Linked DNA regions of Homo sapiens: region 2 is linked to region 1. Evidence: promoter capture Hi-C in 16 types of primary human blood cells and fetal thymus (Javierre and others, 2016). All regions are on one chromosome and are shown on one strand. Each heading gives the region's core, a stretch centred on a gene start or on the middle of the fragment in contact. The rest is flanking DNA. Distances are from core to core; before and after follow the strand shown.

The links. The method cuts DNA at HindIII sites, captures the fragments that hold promoters and counts their contacts. A CHiCAGO score of 5 or more calls a contact.
Region 2: a contact is called between the fragment with the promoter of HPF1 here and the fragment with the promoter of AADAT in region 1, in 13 of 17 cell types (erythroblasts, fetal thymus, megakaryocytes and 10 more). The highest score is 37.9, in erythroblasts.

The regions. Positions count from the first base shown.
Region 1 is chr4:170,088,587-170,091,258 of GRCh38, reverse strand. AADAT (aminoadipate aminotransferase) reads left to right here and starts at 1,303. Exons shown (of 13, transcript NM_016228.4): 1 at 1,303-1,635. The coding sequence starts at 1,569. RefSeq lists a silencer at 1,787-2,081. The HindIII fragment of the contact is 4,709 bases long and covers 1-1,546 here.
Region 2 is chr4:169,756,620-169,759,291 of GRCh38, reverse strand. It overlaps HPF1 (histone PARylation factor 1), which reads left to right and starts at 1,348. Exons shown (of 8, transcript NM_017867.3): 1 at 1,348-1,462. The coding sequence starts at 1,415. It overlaps LOC107986240 (a long non-coding RNA gene), which reads right to left and starts at 1,229. Exons shown (of 3, transcript XR_001741529.2): 1 at 1,068-1,229. RefSeq lists an enhancer at 1,431-1,500. The HindIII fragment of the contact is 1,294 bases long and covers 268-1,561 here.

The sequences.
Region 1 (2,672 bases), core at 54-2,553:
CAGCCCTGGTTCCCGCCCGTGCCTCTCCCTACACACCTCCCCGCAGGCTGAGGGAGCCGGCTCCGGCCTCCGCTATCCCAGGAAGGGGCTCCCACAGTGCAGCGGCGGGCTGAAGGGCCCCTCAAGCGCGGTCAGAGTGAGCGCTGAGGCCGAGGAGGCGCCAAGAGTGAGCGAGGGCTGCGAGGGCTGCCAGCAGGCTGTCACCTCTCAATACTTCCTTTTTGTTATTTAGCTGCTAGCACAAAGATTTTACTGGGTTATCTCAGCCTTTTGCTGCCAGGACCTAGATAAAAGCAGTGGCTCCTTGACCAACCTATTAGGTAAACTTAAAAGAGAGCCATTTGGCAGTGAGTCAATAATCATCTAGGAAGTACTCAGTAAATTTGTGCTGAATGAATGAATCTGTTCATTCATTTTAATAACCATTAAAGAATTTTTTAAAGTCAAAGAGAGGTTGTCTGAAACCCTTCCCTCATTAAGTGCTCACATTAAACCTTGTACATTCCATTTTGGTGATTCAGGAAGGAGAAATTGCAGAAAAGTTGAGGGAGGTGGGGAGTAAGAAGGGTTATTTTGTAAGAAAAAAAAAGGCAAGGTGCTAGACCCAAAAAGATCCGGATATTCACTTCCAACATAATTCTTATTTAACGAAAGGTCAGAAATTCAATGTGAGGGTAGACACTAAAATTGAAGAGACTCAGAGTGATTTTTCAAAAATTTTTGTCAGAACTCCATCGTCACTCCAAAATGCTGAGATCTTCGAGAAAGTGATGTTGAAATTCGTCTTGGTCGCCGGGATGCTTCCCAGGAGAGTGCCCAGAGTTTCACTAACGAAAGATGGGTATTTAGCATAGCCATGGTCTGAGCGGGCAAAATGCACAGTCCCAGTGACTGAGAGGAGGCCAGCGGAGCGCGCGGGAACGAGGGTGGGGCCGCTCCCGGCTGGGCGCAGCTCGGGAGCCCCCTGCAGTGGACCCAAGTCGCCGCCAGATGGTTCCCGAGGATTAGGATCACGGGCACTTCCGGTCCCCTCGGTCAGCCCCTGGGCTAGCCTCTGGGCCGGCGCCTAGGCCGGCCAACGCGGACGCCGGGTTGCGGTGATTCCCAGCGGCGAGGTCAAGAGTCATTGGCCTGGGGCTGCAAGCGCCTCGCGCCTGGGCTACCCCGCGCCCTGCGCTCTGAGGGCGATGATCCGGGACGGGGAGGCGCGCGCCGCGGGCGGCCATAGGCCACGGCGCGGGGCGGGAGGGGGCGCGGCGAGGCCCGCGGCGGGGCAAAACCGGCCTGGGCCCTGGCGGCCGCAGGAGCGCGTGCGGCGTGGACTTTGCCGGGCTCGCCACACAGCCCCAGACCCGTTTAGGACCGGGAGACCGAACGCAGCGTCCAGCCGGGGAGTTTCGGCGGCGTTCTCCGGGCACCGCGCGCGGGAAGCCAGACGCAGCGGGGGGACACATCTCGCGGTGGCGTTGCCAGAGTGAGGAGTTAGCAGGCAGGACTTGACGAGGCTCTTTGGTTTTTCTAGTCCTCAACCACTGAAGAAGAAGCTTGATGCTTGGCTGTCAGAAGACATGAATTACGCACGGTTCATCACGGCAGCGAGCGCAGCCAGAAACCCTTCTCCCATCCGGACCATGAGTGAGAAACGGGGTGACCATCTCTCCTTTGGGGTGGGGCATTCCTCGCACAGCCTCTAAGGAGGGTTCCCTAGCAAGCCACCGCTTGGTTGCATCCATGCGTACCCCTGTGCACGCTCGCGGTGAGCCAGGCTCTGCGTGCAGAAATGAAATAGACACAGCCTTTGTTCTCAAAGAACTCGGGCTGAAACGGAAGGCGGGTATTTCTGCTGGAGCAGAGTAGGAGCAACAGTAGAGAGAGGCGCAGACTGCTGTGGGGCACGGCCTTGGAAGGGAGGGGGCGTGCTATCAAGAAAGGCTCTTCCTGGGAAGCTGAGAAGGGGCATGCACAGCGTGCAGATGGGTGTACAGTGGAGAGGGCCAGGTAAATGGGAGAGGGGTGGGCCATGAAGCTCACAGACAGGTCGGGGCTAAGTGGAGGAGGGCTTCTGCTATTGTGGCCCTTTGCTGTCTTTCTGATCCCTCTGCCTTCTCTTTGGTCACCTTCATTCTTTAGTCCCTCCACAAGTGAGGTGCCTAGAAAAAGTTATTCTGTATGTTTATTTTAGACTAGCTTTTGTCTTAGTCCATTCAGGCTGCTATAACAAAATACCACAAACTGGGTAATTTATGAACAATAGAATTATTTCTCACAGTTCTGGAAGCTAGGAAGTCTAAGATCAAAGTGCCAGCAGCTTCTGTGTCACCATGGTGAGAGCCCTTCCTTATAGACAGAGCCATCTTGCTGCATCCTCACGTGGTAGAAGGGAGAACCTATGTCCTCACGTGGCAGAAGGGCCAAGGGCATTCCCTCAGCCCTCTTTTATAAGTGCACCAATCCCATTCAGGAGGGTGGATCCCTCCTGACCTAATCACCTCTAGAGACCCCACCTGTTAAAACTATCACATTAGTATTAACTTCCAAGTATGAATCTGGGGGAGCACCAACATTTAGACCATAGCACACTCTATCACTAGAAATCGTTAAACTTTATAGTTTTATTGACTATAATGCATGCTTAACTATCCGCTTATAACAATCTTCAATGAAATTGTTTC
Region 2 (2,672 bases), core at 99-2,598, 330 kb after region 1:
CTGGCTAACACGGTGAAACCCCGTCTCTACTAAAAATACAAAAAAAAAAAAAATTAGCTGGGCGTGGTGGCGGGCGCCTGTAGTCCCAGCTACTCCGGAGGCTGAGGTAGGAGAACGGTGTGAACCCGGGAGGTGGAGCTTGCAGTGAGCTGAGGTGGCACCACTGCACTCCAGCCTGGGCAACAGAGCGAGACTCCGTCTCAAAAAAAACAAAACAAAACAAAACAAAACAAAAAACACTGGAAACAGAGAAAAGATCCTAAAGCTTCTTGAGACAAAACAAAACAGAAAGGAAAGCAGGTTACATATCAAGAAATTTAGTGACCTGTGAAGGAGAAGGAAATATAACGACATAGTTTCTTAACAATTCTGGAAGCTAAAATATTGCGGAGCAAGCCCTCCAATATTCCGAGTGAAAGTTATTTTCAACCTAGAACTGTGCTCAGCCAGAATAAAAACATTTCCAGACATGCACACTCTGTGGGAAAAAAGACCTGGCAGCAACCTCTCTCAAGGAACTATTGGCGGATATGTTCCACAACATGAGGGTATATAATCAAGAAAAAGGAACACCCAGATTGAGGAAATAGAGAACTCATCTCAGGAATGAGGAATAAGACCTTCCCAGGATGGATGTGAAGGAGGTCCAAGGACATCAGTTGAGAGTTGTGCCTTCCAAATTTTATGTGCATAGGAATTACCAGGGGATCTTGTTGCGATGCAGATATTGATTCAGTAAGTCTGGGTAAGGCCTGAGATTTGGCGTTTTAACAAATTCCCTCAGGATGCTGAGGCCGCTGGTTCAGGGACTACACTTTGCATATCAGCGGTGTAGAGGAAAAACAGTCCAAATTGTACCAAGAAGACGACGGTACAGAGACAGAGACCGACAGACATTTATTTCCTTCTTGGAGACAATCGGGAATGAATTAGTGTAAGCCAATAACCGTACAGTAGGGTAGGGAGAGGGATGGAGGAGAAGGAGAAAAGGATTAATATTTTAAGTAAATATAAATGAAGAAAAAACAAGGAAGGGGCTGTATTGAGAACAGCCGCATACATCCAACCTTGCCTCTAGTAGACACCTGAAGAGGAAGGTTGGACCACTCTAAGGATTCAGATTCAGTAGTCTGGGGGGTCTCTGGAGCGACCCTGGAAGATGCTCCAGAAAGCCTAGATGCAGACTACGCTGACAGAAGACGCTCCTTGCACGCGCCCAGCACGGGAGTGGGCGGGGCCTCAACGCGTCCGGTGCCAGGTCTCAGGGGGCGGGGAATGGGCGGAGCCTTTCCCCTAAATTGGCGAGCCCGGGCGGCGCTGAAATTCGGCTTGGAGGCTTTTGAACCCGGAAGCGGTTGGCGGCGCTCGGAAGCGGCCGCGGATCGGGGAATTCTGCTGGCGCTGCAGCTGCAGAATGGTCGGCGGTGGCGGGAAGCGCAGGCCCGGCGGAGAGGGGCCGCAGGTACTGCCGGAAAGGCTGTGCGGGCTACGCGGGGCGCTTTGGGTGACAGCCAGGGCACCAGGAGGCAGCGCTTTTCATTCATCCAGTGACTATTAAGCTTGCTGTGTGTCCAGGGGCTGCGGTTTGCTGCGGGGATCCTGCCCAGGGCCGCTGTTTCGCGCTCTGCAGGGGGTTGGACCAGGAAAGTAGCTCCTCTGCATCTTCTGCCCAGCTCCTCTTGGAGCATTTCCTGGGGAAACGGATTAAGCCAACCAATGGTTCATTCGCCCAGCCAGATTGATTGGGAACCGATTACATACCTGACATTCTGTGGGGCGCTGCGGATTTGGGGGTCAACCTGCTTGCTCCTGCTGCTTGTTGAGCCCTCGGCCTGGGGAGGAGGGGCACAAGCAAATATGCATTCTACTGTGACTTTTTTGTTTGGGATTATAACGCTGGTGTGTAGAAAGTGCTATGGAAACACTGAAGGAGGATTTAACAAGTCCCAGGGGGTGTTAAAGAAGACTTTTAAGACAACTCTTTGAAAATTGGTTTTGAAGGCAGAGAAGTAAGATTCTGAGACATAAAACTGTAGGAGATGTTTGGGCGTAGCGGAGCGTTCGGCTTGGCTGGAGCCAGGGAAATGGGAAAATAAGAGGGACCTGATCATAAAAGCACTACTGAGAGGGGAGGAGGAGAGAGTGTGTGCATTCTCATACTTTACTACGATTTCGGAAGTTCTGTAACCACTACAGTAGCAATAAGGGGAATCAGGAAAGAAGTGCCATTGTGATAACTAAAGTTTTAGAAAAGTTACTCTGGTAGTGTCATAAATCGGACAGGGTGAGACATTCTTAGAGGGCTTAACTAACTGTTAAAGGGCCATCGGTATAGGCATCCTTCATATTGGGTCATGCATTCTAGGAAGACCAGGGTAAAGAAGAAGTGTAGCCTCTGAAGGGGACAGCTGTTCTAAATCCTAGTTGTTAGGGCTATGGAGATGCTGAACTAGTGTGTGAGTAAAGGCACAGCTGAAAAAATTCTCTTTTTGAAGGTGCAGTGAAGAACTGCTTTGGTGGAGTGATGTGCTTAACTAGAAATACAATAACAGAAATGAAGATGAGTCTGTAGAGACTATAACCGTAATGGCCAGCATTTGTATATTATGTGCTAGGACCGTTCTGTGTATTTTTACATATAATAACATTCCTTGTAACAACCCCGATATAGG